7 separate regions of the Homo sapiens genome follow, and all the other regions are linked to region 3. Evidence: promoter capture Hi-C in 16 types of primary human blood cells and fetal thymus (Javierre and others, 2016). All regions are on one chromosome and are shown on one strand. Each heading gives the region's core, a stretch centred on a gene start or on the middle of the fragment in contact. The rest is flanking DNA. Distances are from core to core; before and after follow the strand shown.

Region 1 (2,700 bases), core at 2-2,501, 630 kb after region 3:
GAATCTTTAGGCTCTGAGGATTGTAGACTGGGCTAAATTGAGAGTAGCCTGCCAGTTCTGTAGCCATATGATAAGAATTAGGAAGTTAATATGGGATGTTAACATTTTTAAAGTAGGAAGAAGAATAAAGTGGCGGCCATTTTATTTGCAGAATACTTTGACAAAAACAAACCTTGTAGCATTGATATAATATTCTTTAGATTTCCTGATAAAAATCTATATTAGCTAAATTTTCTTTTTCTTTGATAACAGCAAGTTACTGCTGTCACTCGTTTATTTTTTTGAGAAGGAGTCTCGCTGTGTCGCCCAGGCTGGAATGCAGTGACGTGATCTCGGCTCACTGGAACCTCCACCTCCCGGGTTCAAGCGATTCTCCTATCTCAGCCTCCCAAGTAGCTGGGACTTCAGGTGCACTCCATCATGCCTGGCTAATTTTTGTATTTTTAGTAGAGACGGGGTTTCACCATATTGGTCAGGCTGGTCTCAAACTCCTGACCTCAGGTGATTCACCCGTCTCGGCCTCCCAAAGTTCTGGGATTGCAGGCATGAGCCACCGCACCTGGCCTGTTAGTCACTCATAAGTGATTTTAGCATTTAAAGAAATTTATTAATGTAATAGATCTTTGCAAAGGGGCATGGGGAGAGGGAAGTGGGGCACTGAATAGTGCTTGCCTCGGGAAGTCGTTTCCAAATGCTGTCCTCTGTTGTCTGTTTGTAATTTGACTGATATTTGTAGTCTCTCTATCAACTTTTGCAAAGAAGTTTTCTTTCTTAATATTCTGTTGGCACGTTGTTATCCTTTAACACTGCCAATCTGCCGTTTGCTTTCTCAGTATTATTGGTGTTGTCCTTAACATGGAAGGATCTGTAGGTCCTGATGATTGAACCATGGGTATCTTCACAGGGGTCCTGGTACCTGTGTTAATGAAAAACACAAATTGTTATGTTATTTGTTCTCCAGACTTTACTTATTTTCCTCTTCTAATTCTGTTAAAAATCTGTTTCTTGAAAAATATGTTTACAGCATGAAGAAAATTATCCTTTTTCTTTTGCAGCTTATTTGCTTTTAGTTCTGTTCTGGACACTGTGTTACTTAGACCCAAAGAAAAGAACGATGTAGAATATTATAGTGAAACCCAAGAGCTACTGAGGACAGAAATTGTTAATCCTCTGAGAATGTAAGTAGAAAACAAATTGCTATTTTGCCTTTACATGGTGTTCTATTTGCTGTTTTCTGGTATAGTAATTAATTTATACCTTGTCTTCATGTAATAAGAGATGGGTGAAAATTAGTTCTTATGGTAAAATATTACGTTTTTAAACCTTTGGTCCTTGTACTTTTTTGCTTATTTAATTTCTTAAATGTGGCCAAGGTGTAGAACATAGCATATTCCATGAAATGATTTAACCTATTTTGCTAGAGTAAACTATAATTTAGCAATTGCAGTATGTTTAGGAAAGCTAATACATAATACTTAGGATTCTTATCTTTTGAAATAGTTTATTCCAACACTTCTGCTACAAGTAATCATGCTTATTAGTTAAATTGGTGTAGTCTAGCTTCTTAAATCTGAAAGAAAAGGAGAAAGGGAAATTCTTTATAGAATAGCTAGTGTTTAATACTTTGGACTAGCAACAGATGAGATGTATTTTAGTACCATATTTTTTGGTTAAAGGAATATATTTGGCCTCTTTCCACCTGCCTTAAAAAGGTGATTCTTTTTCCATTTCCTACTTTAGGAATTATAAATATGTCTTTTTATGGCCACAGGAAGCAATTTGTAATGGTACAAGCACAAGTGACAGGAGATATCTAGTAAAGACTTTGAATAAGTGGTAGTAGTGATATGTGATAATGTCACATTATAAAATTTAAACTATGAAGAATTAGGACCATAGATCATAAAACAAATTTGTTCATTCAGGAATATAGAGAGAAAGTGATTTATTTAAAGTCCATATTAAGATAAATTTGAATCCTTTTATATACTGTTCTTATTTATCAATTAAAGTAAAAAATAGTTTGATATCAAATTTGAACCAAAAAAGCAGAATACTCAAATACAATGAGGATTCCAAATTATCTGCTATATCACATGACTAGGAAAGTAAATTATAAGAGAATAAATTTCCTCACTTATATCTTTTGCTTTCTTTAAATTCTGTAATGATTTCTCTAATGATCTTACTCTTTAAGATAATTGTGAATCTTGATTTTCACATCAACTATTTTGTCTTATGCAAATTTTTAAACATACGATTTTTTTCCCCCAAGTAATTGATACTGGAACAAGACAGGTCAAACCCGAAACTCTAAGGCATGTTAACACCTCCTTCCTAGAAGAGAGGAAGAATAAACATTCTTTGGATCCTATTGTTCAGCCAGTTAAGAATCATAGTTAATCACACTTTCTTACCCTGTCCACGGTAAGAAACTGGTCAGATGCCCTGTTGTGATCAGGATTCCCTGTGTCTGTAGCATTCATATCTGTATATAGCTGACTGGTTTTATTTGGTGCTGAAATCTCTGCTTTTCTTCAGAGACCCTGTCTTTTTAACCTTACTCATTTTGTATTCCCAGTGGCTGACAGGTTACGTTACTATGTAAGTGGTAGATTCTCAGTCTGTATTGGTTGCAGGAAACTAATGAGTGAATGAATAGTATAAAAAGTGGATATAAAATTAGCTAGTTCTGACTTG
Region 2 (2,700 bases), core at 179-2,678, 680 kb after region 3:
CTGGAGCACAGTGGTGTGATATCAGCTCACTGCAACCTCCACTTCCTGGGTTCAAGCAATTTTCCTGCCCCAGCCTCCTGAGTAGCTGGGATTACACGTGCGTGTCACCATGCCTGGCTAATTTTTGTATTTTTAGTAGAGACGGGTTTCACCACATTGGCCAGGCTGGTCTCAAACTCCTGACCTCGTGATCCACCCATCTCAGCCTCCCAAAGTGTTGGGACTACAGGCGTGAGCCACATTTTTCTAGTTCCCTAAGGTGGAGGCTGAAGTTATTAATTCGAGATCTTACTACTTTTCTAATGCCAGTACCATGGGGTCTATGGAGTCACATGGTCCAAGCTACAGAACTTGTAGCATAGCCTGGACCTGCTGCAGAGCCCTCTCTTGCTTTGAGCCTCACTTAAGACTAGCATGTTTCCTTACAAGTCATTGAATGGGCAAGAGCAGTATCCCCCAGTGTTGGAGTATGCGTCCTTCAATTCGGACTGGTCTACCAAGCACTGGGGATTTTTCCTTAGTGGTAGGAATTGCACAGTACAATAACTTTACTTTATTTTGGAGGGGATTGATATTATTTGCATGCATGTGCCCACCCAAATCTCATGTCAAATTGTAATCTCTAATGTTGGAGGTGGGGCCTGGTGGGAAGTGACTGGATTGTGGGGGCGTATTTCTCATGAGTGGTTTAGCACTATCCCCTTGGTGCTGTCCTCATGACAGTGAGTGAATTCTCTCGAGATATGATTGTTTAAAAGTCTGTGGCACCTTCTCTCTCTCTCTCTCTCTCTTCCTCCCTGCTCTGGCCATGTGACATGCTTGCTTCCCCTTCTGCTTCTGCCATGATTGTAAGCTTCCTGAGGCCTCCGCAGAAGCTGAGCAGATGTTAGCACCATGCTTCCTGTAAAGCCTGCAGAACCATGAGCCAATCATACCTCTTTTCTTTGTAAATTACTCAGGTTCAGCTATTTCTTTACAGCAATACAAGAATCACCTAATACAGGGATGCTCCACTGCTGCAGACCACTGGCCCCTAGAAACTTTGCTGATACATACCTGGGATTTCTTACTTCCCATCCTTTGGACAGCATGTATCTTACCCAGGCATCCCGATGACTTGTCTCTTCTTGCTCATCTGATCCAATTAACGTATCATACAGGGAAGTAATTTCAGCTCACTGCTGAAATTGATACAGGGAAGTAATTTCAGTTTCTTTGTGAAGTGTCCAGATTGCCTAGGTCACATTATGGACTACATTATGGCAGAAATCAGAATTACCATATTCCAGGGCAGGATTATCAATATATGCTATTATCCATTGGATGTAGATGCAAACAGCTTCTGATCCTCATTTGTGATGGGCACGTGTAGTGGGTTAAATGATGCACCTGCCCCCACCCCACCAAAGAAAAGATATGCCCACCTGGAACCTAGAACTGTGGACTTATTTGGAATAAAGGTCTTGGCAGATATAATTAAATAAAGGATCTCAAGATACGATCATCTTGGATTAGGGTAGGCCCTAAATCCAATGATAAATTTCCTTATAAGAGAAGAGAGAGGAATACATACAGGAGAGGACAGAGATTGGAGTGATGTGTCTACAAGCCAAGAAATGCCAAAGACAGCCGGCAGCCACCAGGAGAGGAAGGACTCTTCCCTAGAGCCTCCAGAGGCAGCCTACTGACCCCTTGACTTCAGACCACTGGCCTCTAGAACTGTGAGAGAATAAATTTCTGTTGTTTTAAGTCATTAAGTTTGTGGTAATTTGTTATGGCAGTCCCAGGAAACAAACAACAGTATTGGAAAGAACACGTTTGGCAGATCAGAAATAAATTGCAAACCACATAGCTGAGGTTGTGTTAGTCTGCTGTAGTAAACAGACCTCCTTTGGCATAGGAACTGCAATTCAGCCACCACTTCGTTGATCCTTTCGTCCATCATCTGCAGTGAGAGCTCTGGCATCTCAGCTTCATTTAATGAGGGCCAATGTGAGCTTTTTCCAAGCTTCTAAGAGCCATCCCAGCTATGTATTAGACCCATCCCTGGAAGCCTCGCCGGGGTGTTAAATTCCATGGCAAAGGAGAGGGCTCCCTTGTCAACAAATGTTCCTTTATTCAGTGATAAATTCTGTCCACCTTGACCCAGCATCCTCAGGATCCACTCCTGGGCATGCCCTCCCAGTCCTGCCAGGGCATGTCCACTAGTACCTGCAGAGTCTTTTACTTAGAAACTTTCCCATTCCTAAGCAGGCCTCACACAGTTGACTCATGCTGAGACTTGGCCCTACAGATTAGACTGGTGGCGGGGAGAGGAGGTGACAGCAGATACGGAGGAGGCCAGTGCTGCTTTATAAAAATCCTCATTTGGGGCTTCTTGGATAGTCTCCTAACAGGGTGGACAGGCCGCTTCTGCAGACCCAGAGGACCCAAAGTTCTCAAGTACATGTACTCAAATGCACTTACCCCAAGTTCCAGATTCCTGCAGCTTCTCCATCAGAGGTCTGACTTTGGTGTAGAAAACTTGCCTAGGCTTAGAATTAGAATTTAAATTTCCTTAAAGTTGCAACTCTTATCCTTAAGTCCTTTCCTCATATCCTTAAGGCCAGGGCCTGGGAGCCAGCTGTCTGCCTCCCCAGCTGTGGGAGATGAGAGTTTCTATAATGCTGGCAATGGGGCTCTCAGACCCTCATGTTTTGC
Region 3 (2,700 bases), core at 133-2,632:
TGACGCGTGCCTATAGTCCTAGCTACTCGGAGGCTGGGGCAAGAGGATCGCTTGAACCCAAGAGGCCGAGCCTGCAGTGAGCTGTGAATGAGTCACTGAACTCCAGATGACAGAGCAAGAGTTAGTCTCGAAAGAAAGAAAAAGGTAGAGCGACACTTAGTTCTTTGATAGTTTTCCACTATTTGTCATAAAAACTTTCCAGGATATTGAGCTCCCAAAATGGAAGGCCAATATCAGGCATCAGGGACTTGTTCTGGACGTTGGACCAACCTTAAAGGGCCCACATAGAAGCTGTTCACTTACTTTCTTTTAGTCTCTTGATTTAAAATACTTAACATTCCCCTTTCCTTGGCTTTTTAACCACTGAGATTTGAAAGACATGCAAATAACGACCTAGTGGACAATCTTTGCTGATGCTAAATCTTCATTTTAGGATTAAAAGGTTTTGGGTTTTCTTAAAATTTAATGCTGAACTCAGAAGAGCTTTCTAAGGCTGTTGGTGCACCTTAGGGCAGGAGAGCGTCTTTGCTACGCCGCGCAGGAGTGTGTCTGCTTCTCTGTGCATCTACACGTGTTTGCGTGTCCCTGTAAAGTGGGTTGAGTGTGCGGCTGCGGCTTTCCGCCCTTGGCTCACACTCTCAGTCTTAGTGGTCTCCCCCAGGGCTATGCATGGGGTACAGGTTTCTGTGGCCTCAGGCCGGGGTGAGGGGTCCCCCACCCCGGCCAGGGCGCAGCAGGGCGGGGCACACGTAGCCGTGCAGGGTCTCGCGCAGCCCGCGTCAGGACCCCGGGGCACACGCTCGGGCAGGGGGCGTGTCCCCACGCCACCAGAAAAAGTGTTATAGGCTGTTTTTTTTTTTTTTTTTTTTTTTAAAAAGAAAGTGTTTTAGAAAGCAGGCAGAAGCCAAGACGTCAGGAAGGGTTGCGAGGGCCCGGGATCCGGCGGCCACAGGGATGGGAGGGGCGAGGAGCGAGGGGCGGAGTGGCACCTCCCACAACGCGCTCCCTGCGGGGCGGGCGGCAACCTCCATGCGGCCTCGTCCACGCTCAGCACCGGGGAAGCCGAGGCGGAGAAGCCGCGCGCGCCTCAGAAGCTCCCGGACGCCCAGGTACGTGGGAGCACTCCACAGATGGCGCAAGTACGGTTGGGCCAGGCGGTTGCGGCCCCGTCGCGCCGCGGCCTCTGTGACGCACGGCGAGGCCTCCCGGGCTGCTGCGCGGCGCAGCGGGGGCGGGGCGAGCGCGTGAGGGCGGGGCGGTGGGGGGGGGGGGCGGAGCGAGAGGGGCGGAGCCGGCAGAGGCCCCGCCCCGGGGCCGGAGGAGCGAGGACGCTACGGAGCAGGCGCGTCTCGCTGCCGCCGCTGCCGCCGCCGCCGCTCGCTCTTCTGTGGAGCCGCCGCCGCCGCCGCCGCCATTTGCACGGGGACCCCAGTGACAGGGGCTCGGCGGAGGGGCGGAGGGGCGGAGGGAGGGGGGGAGGGCCCGCGGAGCCCCCGAGGGCGGGAGCGACGCCGCCGGCGCCGGCCGGGCTCCCTGCGCGACCGCGCCGCCCGCGGCGGGCCCCGAGCAGCAGCAGCAGCAGCAGCGGCAGCAGCGGCAGCAGCAGCAGCAGCCGAGGCCGGGCGTGCGCCTGAGGCGGCGGCGGCGGCGGCCCTGCGGGCGGCCGGGAGGGGCGGGGGCAGCGGCCGCCGCCGTTTGATGGATCCGAGGATCGCCTGGTTTCAGCCAGAGCAGCTCGGACCGTCCAACAGTCTGTGGATGCAGATCTGGGAGACGACCCAGGGGCTGAGGAACCTCTACTTCAACCACCACTGTCACAGCAGCGGCGGCGCGAGCGGCGGCGGCGGCAGCAGCAGCAGCAGCAGCACGGCCACCGGCGGGAGCGGCAGCAGCACCGGCAGCCCCGGCGGCGCGGCCTCGGCCCCGGCCCCGGCCCCGGCCGGCATGTATCGCTCCGGGGAGCGCCTGCTGGGCAGCCACGCGCTGCCCGCGGAGCAGCGGGACTTCCTGCCCCTAGAGACGACCAACAACAACAACAACCACCACCAGCCCGGGGCCTGGGCCCGCCGGGCGGGCTCCTCGGCGTCCTCGCCTCCCTCGGCGTCCTCGTCCCCGCACCCTTCGGCCGCCGTCCCCGCCGCCGATCCAGCCGATTCGGCCTCGGGCAGCAGCAACAAGAGGAAGCGCGACAACAAGGCCAGCACGTATGGACTCAACTACAGCCTGCTGCAGCCCAGCGGAGGGCGGGCCGCGGGGGGCGGCCGAGCAGACGGCGGCGGGGTCGTGTACAGCGGGACCCCGTGGAAACGGAGGAACTACAACCAGGGAGTCGTGGGGTGAGTGCTGGCTCTGCGGCCCGATGGCCTGGCCGGTGCGAATGCGCAGCCGGGCACACGCCCACAGAGGGGGGTTGTGAGGGTCTAGGAGCGGCCACCCCCACGGCCTGCCTTCGCTGCTGTTGCACGGGGGTGCTGCTGGCCATCCCCAACCCCCCAGTCGTTCACACCTTTCCCCAAGCCTCCTTAGCCGTCCACACCCTCCGTCTCCTGTCCTCCCTTAGTCGTCCACACCTTCCTCCCCTCCCTCTTAACCGTCCACACCTTCCCCAGGCCCCCCCCTTTATCCATTCACTCTCCTCCCATCCCCCTTAGTTAAACACATCTACCCTTGACCACCACCCCGCCTCCAGCCCTCCACACC
Region 4 (2,700 bases), core at 89-2,588, 580 kb after region 3:
TCATTGCCAGTTGTATAAAATCCACTTTTCATCGCACGTCACAATCAGATCAAGAAATGGTTCGCTGTTGTTGTGTAGAATAAGAGAAGATGACACTTCAAAATGACGATTTTCTTGGTTTTCACTCAGCTCATGAGGCACACACTTATCGAGGTTTTTCACCTTTCCAATTTGCTTCAAATGCTGAATGACCATGGAATGGTCGATGTTGAGTTCTCAAGTAGTTGTAAGAAAATCAGCTTTGATGATTGCTCTCAATTGGTCATTGTCAGCTTCTGATGGCCTGCCAGTACACTCCTCATCTTCAAGGCTCTTATCTCCTTCGCAAAACTTCTTGAACCACCACTGCACTATACGTTAGTTAGCAGTTCCTGGGCCAAATGCATTGCTGATGTTGTGAGTTGTCTCCGCTGCTTTACAACCCATTTTGAATTCAAATAAGAAAATTGCTTGAATTTGCTTTTTGTCTAACATCATTTTCATAGTCTAAAATAAATATAAAATAAACAGAAAGTATTAAGTCATTAGCAAAAAATCATAAAGTGAGAATTGTGCATTAAAATGATGTATAGCATAACCACATTTATTTAAGAATGTATTCCAATATCAAATGGCAAATTTCAACAATGCAAAAACTGCAATTACTTTTGCACCAATCTAATAGAAGTTCAATAAATACTGGCAATTACAATTGGCATTGCCTTAGGGTCAACTTGTAAGACATTCCTGAAATTGTGGGAAAGGGGGAGGACCTGGAGTGGACATTATTGGAAGGCAAAGCTGTAACCAAAAGAGCAACCTGGGAAACACATGACTCCTCTGTTGCTGTCCCTGGCCCTATCCTGTCTCCCCTCCCTGTTGTCAGCTACCTCATATGTTCTCTAATCTCTGTCTCTGTGCCCTCAAAGACCCCCCTGAAAATAGAAATATTACTGCTCATTGGTTATTTTCTATCAATTAAGTACTGTATTAGTCCGTTTTCATGCTGATGATAAAGATATACCCAAGACTGGGCACTTTATGAAAGAAAGAGTTTTATTGAACTTACAGTTCCACGTGGCTGGGGAGGTCTCACAATCATGGCTGAAGGTGAAAGGCACATCTCACATGGCAGCAGACAGGAGAAGAGGGCTTGTTCAGGGAAACTCCCCTTTTTAAAACCATCAGATATCATGAAACTTATTTACTGTAATGAGAACAGGATGGGATTCAATTACCTTCCACTGGGTCGCTCCCACAACACGTGGGAATTCAAGAGATTTGGGTGGGGACACAGCCAAACCATATCAAGTACTGTGCAAGTGTTTTAGGCATGCAGAGAGTGGTGGGTCTTCCCAGCAAGCAGAGTGTGGGGAGGTAATGGGGGACTGGTGGCTGACTTAATGGCCCAGGACCCATGCCACAAGGAGATGGATGGTGGATGTGAATAGGAGCCTGCTTACACCCATCACAATTTAGATTCTTATGCTCGATGGCACGGGTACTCTTTTAGGCCCATTTTACCAATGAGGAGATTGGGACTAATTTGCTCGAGATCAAAAAAGAAGTGGTGTAGGTGGGATTTAAACCCAGGATGTCTAGCACTAAAATGCAGGTACTTAACCACTATCCTAAGGGAGTGGCTACTTAATTTGATAAACTCATCTAGTGAATGGAAGAGAGACGGTTACATTTCACTGATGGTACTGAGCCTTTGTTGATGAGCTCATTGGGAATCTCAGACATGAGCAGGATGTGTCTAAGGGACAGGTGGGCTTCAGTAGACTGGCTAACTCCTGCAGTCTCTTTAACTGGACAGTTTCAAGAGGAAAACCAAGAATCCTTGAAGCTCACCATTGTATCTTCTTTTCCAGGTTGTCCAATAACTGCATCACCTACCTAGGGGCAGAAGCCCTCCTGCAGGCCCTTGAAAGGAATGACACCATCCTGGAAGTCTGGTAAGGCCCCTGGGCAGGCCTGTTTTAGCTCTCCGAACCTCAGTTTTTCTATCTGTAAAATGGGGTGACGGGAGAGAGGAATGGCAGAATTTTGAGGATCCCTTCTGATTCTGACATTCAGTGAGAATGATTCTGCATGTGAAGGATCTGATTCTCTGTCTAAGAAAGAAGTCTTTACCTCTTTAAGTAGGGAGCAATGATTTCATTTTTAAACCTTGACTATTTATTCAGCAACTTCTCTGCTCTATGAGATAGTGTAGGAATGGGGATGTGGTTGAAGAATGAAAAGAAAAGTCAGCTCCCGCCCTCCTAGAAATTGCATCTGCCTTCACAGGTCAAGGATATTGGATCAGACCTTCTGCGGTTCTGAATGGAGATTACACAGGTTAGGAGCAGGTTGCACAGTGTTTCCAATTCTCTATAATTAAAGCCATAGACTTTCATGTATTGAAAAAAGCAAGAATTGCATTCTTGACAGATTCTTTCATTGCCTTAAAAAGAATGACTAGCCTTGGGAGTCTGGGCAGCTGGGTCCAGTGTTGTAGACTTTCTCTCTGCTGAGCCACAGCTTCAAAGATTTGTCCTTCTTGTTTCCAGGGATCTATTTCTCAGACAATAAGTAAAGGCTTTCCCTGGCCTAATGTGCTGTAAGTGAATGCTACTATATATGTTCCAGGCACTGGGCTAGAGACTAATATTTAAAAGCCAGGAAATTTCCTATAGAAAATCTATATCTCAGGGTTTTCTCAAAAGAGCTGGGAAC
Region 5 (2,700 bases), core at 191-2,690, 660 kb after region 3:
TAAATATACAATCGTTTATTTATGGTTCTCATACTGATGGAAAGGGGCATTGCTGACAGTTTGGGGCTACTACACATGACCCTACTGTGATCCTTCTTGAATTGGTGGATTTTAGCTTTAGGAGAGACAGCTGCAGACTTTTCCAAAGTTTACACTCCTTCCTTCTTTCATTATTATTTTTTAACCAACTCCACTGAGGTGTAATTTACATACAGTAACATACACATATTTTAAGTAAGCAGTTAGATGAGTTTTGACACATTCATGAATTTATTTTTTATGAGACCAGGATCTCACTATGTTGCCCAAGCTAGTCTCGAACTCCTGGGCTCAAGCGATCCTCCTGCCTCAGCCTCCCAAGTATCTGGGACTACAGGCATGCACCACCATGCCCAGCCAATTTTAAAAATTTTTCGTAGAGAAGGTGATCTTGTTATGTTGCCCAGGCTGGTCTTGAATTCCTGACCTCAAGTGATCCTCCTGCCTGGGCATCCGGAAGCTCTATTACAGGCATGAGCCACCACTCTGGGATCTGACAAACTTTCTGTAGTGTTGAAGTTCAGTGACTTGGAGTAGTCACCTCCAGCTCAAGGTGCATGTGCCTGTGTGTTTTCTCCTTTTTTTGATAAAACCCAGGCTCAGCACAGGGTCGAGAAAAAGACTGAAAGTCAGCCCAGAAAGCAGTGTAGAAAGTAGAAAGCTAGTCTGGACTACCATTAGCATCAAGGACCTCAGTCACTGGAGCCATTGAGATGGGTCCACCCCTTCTCCCTCTCTTTCTCTCTCTCTCTTTTTCTTTCTTTAATTCATTAGCAAGAGGGTCTGTCTCACTATGTTGCCCAGGCTGGAAAACCTGGGCTCAAGCAACCCTCCCATCTCAGCCTCCCAGTCCCAGCTCAATCTTTCTTTTTAAAGTTGGAGAATTTTCTAAAGTTCTCCAACTTTAAAGGCTGCTGCCTAGGGAGGCAGGGCTGCACCCACGGGCAGAGTTAGAGGCAGAGCTGGAACAGAACCCCAGCATGGGAAGTCCGTGTTCACGGGGGGCCATTTCACCCTGGGACATTGTAGGGCAGCTCGAGGCTCTGACTAGGGAGGCCCAGCGCCTGGGGCTGGCGCTTGGTCCGAGCTCTGCAGGCTTTCCTGGGTGGAGAGGAGCCTCTTCCTGCCATGCACACCAGGCCTTCCTTAAGTGACTCAAACACCAATCTTCCTTGGGCTTCCTGAACTGTGAGGATTCCACAGTCTGGCAGGGCTGGTGGCCTCAGCCGTACACTCTGCAGCCAAGAGGGCTCTAGCTCCTGATTCCACCCTGTCCCTCAGCGGCTCCCCAGTGCTCTTCCAGGCCTTAGGCCTGCACCATCCCCACCTCTCCCTCCTCACCAACCTGCCACCTCCTGCCTCAGGTGGACACACTCAGGAGGAAGTCAAGCCTGTCCCTATACAAAAGCCATATTCCCAGGCACTTGCCTGAGTAGAGACGAAGTCTCAGCTCCTTCTACGTGAGCCCGAGGTGCCCACGGTCCCCACACCCCCTCCAGGAGTCCTTGCATTTGCGCAATGCTTTATACTCATCTGTCAGCTCGGCAGTGGGTCCCCCAGAGGGTGAAAACCACATTGTCCCTGTCTCATCAGCAACCAGAACAGGGGGCACCAACTGTGGCCTCCTCCCATATTTGTCGGGAGACTGAATGATTCTCAGGAAGCTGCGCGGCCACCGGCCATTTCACATGGGCATTTCCAAGCTGGGTGCTTTTTGCACCATGCTATTTTGGGCGGGAAGACTTTTCCAGTCCCTTTCTCCTTGGCATGCCACAGAAGAATTTCCTTCACCCACATCTGGATCATCTAGAATTACCCAGTTCAGCCTGTTGCTTTCAATGGCAAACGTCCAGTGCATGGTGTTGGCTCATTTTCATCCCCACTGTCTAGGAGCCCTTGAGCCTTGAGCTTTGGTTCACTATGGGCAGTCTCTTCCCTCCAGGCCTTGGCTAGAGCCAGGCAGGGACAGTGCCCACTCAGGGGCCGATCCACCTCGCTGGGGGCCACCAGTTCGAGCTGGGTGCTCTGTGAAACCAGTCATACCCAAGCTACTGGACTCTGGTCACTCCATGATCCTTGGCAAGATGTCTGTCTATGAACCGCAGTCCCTCTATCTGTAAAATGAAGGATCCTAGACTGGGACTCTCAAGCTCACTTGCCTACAGGGGCCAGGCAGGTACCTTAGGGAAGGGAGAAGGTTGGAGTGTTGGTGGAGAGCTGATATGGTAAAGGAAAGGAAGAAGCAGGCCAGTATATTCTGATTTTTTTTTTTTTTTTTGAGACGGAGTCTCGCTCTGCTGCCCAGGCTGGAGTGCAGTGGTGCGATCTCAGCTCACTGCAACCTCCACCTCCCGGGGTCAAGCAGTTCTCTGCCTCAGCCTCCTGCGTAGCAGTGAGTGCCACCATGCCTGGCTAATTTTTTTGTATTTTTAATAGAGACAGGGTTTCGCCATCTTAGCCAGGCTTGTCTTGAACTCCCGACCTCGTGATCCACCCGCCTCGGCCTCCCAAAGTGCTGGGATTACAGGCGTAAGCCACCGCACCTGGCCTATGTTCTGATTTTTCAGACGAAGTCAGAAATTTCTAAGAGAAGCAAAAGTTCCTGATCTGTACAAATCTGGCAACTTTTCTTTTTTTTAACTCTGTATGTGCCAGACGCGT
Region 6 (2,700 bases), core at 92-2,591, 620 kb after region 3:
TAAAATGCTATCAAGCAGTATCACATGCTACAGAGAAATCTTTTATGAAAGAAAGAGCCAACTTCATTGTTGTCTTATTTTAGGAAATTGCCACGGTCACTCCAACTTTCAGCAACCATCACCGTGATCAGTCAGCACCCATCCACACTGAGGCAAGAGCCTCCACCAGCAAAAAGACTATGACTCCTTGAAGGCTCAGATAATCATTAACATTTTTTAGCAATGAAATATTTTTAAAATTAAGGTATATACATTATTTTCAATAACATAATGGTATTGCACACGTAATGGACTACAGTATAGTGTAAACATAGCTTTCATATGCACTGGGAAACAAAAACACTTGTGTGACTTGCTTTATTGTGATATTTGCTTTATTGTGGTGGTCTGGAACAGAACCTACAATATCTCCAGGGTGTGCCTGTGTGGGTTTGTGGGTTTCAATTTTTTTTTTTTTTAATTTCCATAGAGTACTTTTGAAAGCTCAAAAAATAATTAAAAAAAAAAGCATTTTAGATTGAAAGTAACCGTTCTCTTTACCTACCTTAATTGCATTTCTTTGAATTTTACATTTTACAACTGAATGCAATTCATTATACTGAATAAGTTAGGAGACTAGGGAAATCATTAGTTTAGTATTATAATTTAAGATTGAGATACCTGAACTATGAAGTTGGCTTATGTATAATTGATTGTTTTTCTCAGTTGGCTGTAGAATAAATACTTGAAGTGCTTTCTCCCACACACACACTCTAGAGCTGTATTTCCTTCTGTCTATTTTTTCCACATCTCAATTTGGTTTGAAATGTAAATTATCTTGGGTTCTACAGTAGCACTTAAAAAGCAAAGCAAAGAAAAAAACCACCCTTTCTATTTTTCCTGGAATATAACCTGACAAGGAATTCTTCATTAGTAGTATTTATCTTAAAAACATTTACGGTTTTGTTTTATTAAAATATTGGTGGAGGATTGAGATAATTAAAATTAGTTACATGAATATCTTGGGCGTCACTTGTCAGGCACACTTTGATCTTCTAAATCAGTAGTTATCATTGTCATTATTGCTGGCTCAGAGCAGTGAAGAGAAAGAAAAAGAATGATATTTTTTTTTCTTTTAAAGCTTGATTTTCATAAACCCTCAATAGGAGATAATTAAGAATGATACCAGCATTTATAACATAATACATAAATTACACTTATTTGTCAACAAAATAAAGCTTGCAAATAGACTTTAAAAACTAAAGTTGTTTAAATGAAAATTAATTTAGTTTACTTAAATGAGTCTTCATCTGCCTTTCATGTCATCATTAGGACTCTTTTCTTGAGGGGAAAAAAAAGTCAAAGTGTCTCCTTTAGTTCCTTAGTTTCTTTTTCTTGCCCAATTACCTTCATCCGTGAAACAAAATTAATATTTACAGCATTTAAAAAAGAAAAAAGATTCTTTTCAGAGCAGTTGAATGGCTGGGAAGCTTAGGAAAGAATTCTTTCTAGTCAATTGCTTGTAATAGTTGGCTTCTGAAGGATACCTTTGATTGAAAGATGCAGGAATCTTAAACCTGTTATAAAATTGTTTCTCTCTTATATTTCTGTTCTAAATGGTTAAAAACACTGCTAACATATCTAATTTGACATTATGTTCATGTTCTTGAAGTTGTTATGATGAAGCATATCAATTAGCACCACCCCAAAATTATACATTTCGGTTTTTCTAGTTCAACCTGTGTCTTCTGTTCTAGTTGTGGGGGTTGGGAGTATAATGCTGTTTTTTTGACGATCTCTACGATCAAGATAGTGAACATATCCATCACCCCAAAATATGTCCCTTGGGATCCCTCCCTCTGCCTCTTCCTGTCCTCTCAACCCCCTACATTCAGACAACCACTGGTCTTCTTTACATCAGTATACACTTGTTCACATTTTTAAGGATTTTACAAAAGTGGAATAACTCAGAATGCATTCTTTTTTGTCTGGCTTATTTCACTCGACATAATTATTTTTTATTCATCCATGTTGTCCTTTTTATTGTTGATATGGTTATATTAGTTTCTATATCCATTCACTTGTTGATGGACACTTGAGTTTTTTTCAGTTTTTGGCTATTATGAATAATGCTGCTATGAAAATTTGTGTACGAATCTTTGTATGGACATATGCCTTCATTTCACTTGGGTACTTACCTAGATGTGGAATGGCTGGTAATATCATAGGTGACTGTTAACTTAAATAAAACCCCCAAACCTTCCAAGCTGTGTTTCCAAAGTGGTTGCATTATTTTACATTCCCAGAAGCAGTATATGAGAGATACAGTTCTTCCATATCTTTGCCAACACTTGGTATGATCAGTTTTTTAAATTTTAGTAACATCTAATTGTGGTTTTACTCTGCGCTTCATTGGTGACCAGTGATATCAAACATCTTTCCATGTGCATATTTGTCATCTGTATATCTTCTTTGGTTTAGTATCTGTGAAAGTCTTTGGCCGATTATTAATTGTTTCTTTATGATTGGGTTTTGAGAGTTATTTATAAATTTTGAATACAAACCCTTTTGCAGATATATGCTTTACAGCATTTCAGATTATTATAGATTCACATGCAGAGAGAGGGACCCTGTGTGCCCTTTAGCCAATTTTTCCCAGCGGTAACATTAACATGTTGTAAAACAAGACGTGTGCAACATCACAACCAGAATGTTGACCCT
Region 7 (2,700 bases), core at 138-2,637, 590 kb after region 3:
CTTTTGAAATATTTGATAACTTGTGCTTGACTATTTTAGTTGTCTAACATGACCCATCCTATTGCTAAGTCTAAGCTCATTTCCACTTGTGCTAATGAAAGTTAGGAAAAAAGTTACCACTCCTTGTAGAGTTCACTTTAAAATATGGTACTTGAAAGCTATAGTTTATTACCCTAAAACATTTTTATAAACCTAGCAGTTATATCAATTTTTACTGTGGATTCTCTTCCTTAAATTATTTCAGAAAGCAAGCTTATAATCAAATTTATTTAACATAATGTCCTAATGCACATATAGTAATTTAGTTTTGTCTTAATAATAGATTATTAGCATTAATGATTTTTATTTTAAATTGTGACATGAATAGTTAAGCTACAGGACCAATAGAGTAGGAGCTGTTGGTATAAAGCAATTATTAAGATTCAGGGAAGTTTCTGATTGTAATATTTGAAGACATTGTTCTTAGGAATTTTAAAAAAGAATTTCTTTTCAAAATAGAATTACTTTACCTTTTTCAAAAAAATTTTGGCCCTAAAAATCTAAATACATTTTAAAGAGAACCAAAACAACAGCTCGTTTTTTTGAAAGTTGCTTTTTGACTGTCTTAACCTTCTGCTAGTGACCAGACTCTCTATTCAATAAAGCCTATGTGCCCTTTGCTCCTAAAGACCCTTTCAGAATGTATGCATTCCTCTTTTCACGATTGTTGCTTTGTGTTTTCAAACACACAAACATATTTCACTACCTGGCTTCTCAGAACTGATTCGAAGCGATAAGTTGGAAAGCAACAAGGCCGTAAAAGGAGTCAAATGCATACAGCAGGAAACCACAGAAAATGGCTGATTGCAAGGGAAAACTCTAGACAGTAGATCTGTAGAAAGCATTCGCGACCTCAGGAAGCATAAGATACAGCCTTTTAACAAAATAACAGCCTTGCAGATCAAGAGTTATGCAAAATAATTTACAGTCATAATGATACATCAATGATCAAGAAAAAAATAAGGACATTTTCTTGTGGAAAGTGTTGACATGTTAAAAGCATTTTGGTCAAAAAGAACCAACACTTCAGTTTGGTCCTTTAAAGGAATCCAACCAAATTGAGGGGTTGGATAGCTGTTTGGGCAGCCCTTATAAGGAGTTTTGTTTATATTGTGTCAAGATAGAGGTTTCCACAGGTGTCTTATATAAGTGGCAAATATAAATTGATCCCATTCTTGCTGAAGTAGACAGTGCCCTCAAGTGGAATTAAAACAAACACACCACAAAAAAGAAGAAAAGAGAACCACTTCATGCTACCTCTGCTTTTACCCTCACTGAGTGTTACACAGATATTTCAGTCATGTTGGTTTGAAGGAGGTGCCTAACCTGTATCCTGTCTTGGCTAAACCACATGTCTCATGCTGGCTTGTAGAGGGAGAGACTTTTAGGAACGTTACCATTATGGAATACTTCATTATCTAGCAGTGCTTTCTAAAAGAAGTGTTCCACTGTGTATAGATTTGCCAGGTTGTTTGATCATTAAGTGATTAAATCTAAAATTTGGTTCTTTAGGAGTATTTATTTTTTAATTGCTAGAATAAAATAAATATGATAGTGCTATCAATTGCAGCCATTACCCAGAATAATGGAAATGGATACCTCTATCTCAAGGAAGGATGAAATGAAAGTACTGTCTTTGGAAACCAGATAGCCACATTCTTATGACAGGGATACCTAGGAAGTATTGTTTTCAGCAGAAAATTAATTAAAATAATGAAGTAAAGTCTCAGTTTAAATTAATGAAATTGTGTAGTTTTTTAACCATCAGTTAAAATAGGTTTGAGAATGAGCCTACTTCATTGGAAAGATTATTATTCTTGTAAAAATTTTAAATGAGGACCAGGTGCAGTTGCTCATGCCTGTAATCCTAGAACCTTGGAAGGCCAAGGTGGGAGGATCATTTGAGTCCAGGAGTTTGAAACTGCAGTGAGCTATGATCGCACCAATGTACCCAAGCCTGGGTGACAGAGCGAGACCCTGTCTTAAAAATAAATAAATAAAATAAAAATAAATGAAAATTTGAAAAAGAAATAATAGAAAGAAATTATAATGCAGTTATATCATGATATTCCCTTGCTATGTAGTACAAGTTTTGATGCTACAAAATTGATTTTTAAAATATTTTTAATATAGTCATATTATAATATCTGATATTTGCGATTTGAGAAATCAGATAACTATGATTAATGTGATGAACATTGCCCATCTTCAGAAAAAATATATGAAATGAAGTTGAGTCAGAGGTAAAATGTTCCATTATCACAATATGGCCATATCATAGCTATCATTTATAGGCATGAGCCACACAGCTCAGCCCGAAACGCTACTTTTAAAAGTTTATTAGTGTCAGAATATGGGACAGGCCTGGTGGCTTACGACTGTAATCCCAGTGCGTTGGGAGGCCAAGACAGGAGGATTGTTTGAGCCCAGGAGTTCAAGACCAGCTTAGGCAACATAGTGAGACCCTGTCTCTACAAAAAATAGAAAGCTTAGCTGTGTGTGGTGATATGCGTCTATAATACCAGTTACTCGGGAGGCTGAGGTAGGAGGATCACTTGAGCCTGGAAGGTCTTGGCCACAGTGAACTGTGATTGTGCCACTGCAGTCCAGCATGGGCAACAAGAGTGAGACCCTGTCTCAAAACAAATAAATAAAAATAAA

The links. The method cuts DNA at HindIII sites, captures the fragments that hold promoters and counts their contacts. A CHiCAGO score of 5 or more calls a contact.
Region 1: a contact is called between a fragment that was not itself captured here and the fragment with the promoter of TENT4B in region 3, in 10 of 17 cell types (naive CD4 T cells, total CD4 T cells, total CD8 T cells and 7 more). The highest score is 25.7, in naive CD4 T cells.
Region 2: a fragment that was not itself captured here is called in contact with the fragment with the promoter of TENT4B in region 3 in 2 of 17 cell types (non-activated CD4 T cells and naive B cells); the score reaches 7.1 in non-activated CD4 T cells.
Region 4: a fragment that was not itself captured here is called in contact with the fragment with the promoter of TENT4B in region 3 in 10 of 17 cell types (neutrophils, total CD8 T cells, non-activated CD4 T cells and 7 more); the score reaches 14.3 in neutrophils.
Region 5: a fragment that was not itself captured here is called in contact with the fragment with the promoter of TENT4B in region 3 in 10 of 17 cell types (total CD4 T cells, naive CD8 T cells, non-activated CD4 T cells and 7 more); the score reaches 11.6 in total CD4 T cells.
Region 6: a contact is called between a fragment that was not itself captured here and the fragment with the promoter of TENT4B in region 3, in 10 of 17 cell types (total CD4 T cells, naive CD4 T cells, total CD8 T cells and 7 more). The highest score is 21.5, in total CD4 T cells.
Region 7: a contact is called between a fragment that was not itself captured here and the fragment with the promoter of TENT4B in region 3, in 12 of 17 cell types (total CD4 T cells, naive CD4 T cells, naive CD8 T cells and 9 more). The highest score is 30.9, in total CD4 T cells.

Annotation. Positions count from the first base shown.
Region 1 is chr16:50,783,274-50,785,973 of GRCh38, forward strand. CYLD (CYLD lysine 63 deubiquitinase) reads left to right here. Exons shown (of 19, transcript NM_001378743.1): 12 at 1,056-1,178. CYLD-AS2 (CYLD antisense RNA 2) reads right to left here. Exons shown (of 3, transcript NR_187251.1): 3 at 586-916. Among named protein-coding and RNA genes, the nearest start is that of CYLD-AS2, 19 kb to the right of the region's middle. The HindIII fragment of the contact is 3,747 bases long and covers 1-2,700 here.
Region 2 is chr16:50,828,669-50,831,368 of GRCh38, forward strand. No RefSeq gene overlaps it. Among named protein-coding and RNA genes, the nearest start is that of LINC02128, 10 kb to the right of the region's middle. The HindIII fragment of the contact is 1,155 bases long and covers 852-2,006 here.
Region 3 is chr16:50,151,924-50,154,623 of GRCh38, forward strand. It overlaps TENT4B (terminal nucleotidyltransferase 4B), which reads left to right and starts at 1,383. Exons shown (of 12, transcript NM_001365324.3): 1 at 1,383-2,336. The coding sequence starts at 1,699. RefSeq lists an enhancer at 439-1,396 and silencers at 623-712, 933-1,102, 1,213-1,372, 1,603-1,702, 1,883-1,932 and 1 more. The HindIII fragment of the contact is 13,709 bases long and covers 1-2,700 here.
Region 4 is chr16:50,727,965-50,730,664 of GRCh38, forward strand. It overlaps NOD2 (nucleotide binding oligomerization domain containing 2), which reads left to right. Exons shown (of 12, transcript NM_001370466.1): 11 at 1,854-1,937. CYLD-AS1 (CYLD antisense RNA 1) reads right to left here. Exons shown (of 7, transcript NR_184279.1): 5 at 1,879-1,989; 6 at 1,049-1,186; 7 at 1-486. Among named protein-coding and RNA genes, the nearest start is that of CYLD, 13 kb to the right of the region's middle. The HindIII fragment of the contact is 3,218 bases long and covers 1-2,700 here.
Region 5 is chr16:50,811,197-50,813,896 of GRCh38, forward strand. No RefSeq gene overlaps it. Among named protein-coding and RNA genes, the nearest start is that of LINC02168, 5.9 kb to the left of the region's middle. The HindIII fragment of the contact is 5,044 bases long and covers 1-2,700 here.
Region 6 is chr16:50,767,023-50,769,722 of GRCh38, forward strand. The region is part of intron 5 of CYLD (CYLD lysine 63 deubiquitinase); the gene reads left to right. Among named protein-coding and RNA genes, the nearest start is that of CYLD-AS1, 26 kb to the left of the region's middle. The HindIII fragment of the contact is 252 bases long and covers 1,216-1,467 here.
Region 7 is chr16:50,746,525-50,749,224 of GRCh38, forward strand. All of the region lies in intron 2 of CYLD (CYLD lysine 63 deubiquitinase), which reads left to right. Among named protein-coding and RNA genes, the nearest start is that of CYLD-AS1, 5.1 kb to the left of the region's middle. The HindIII fragment of the contact is 2,275 bases long and covers 251-2,525 here.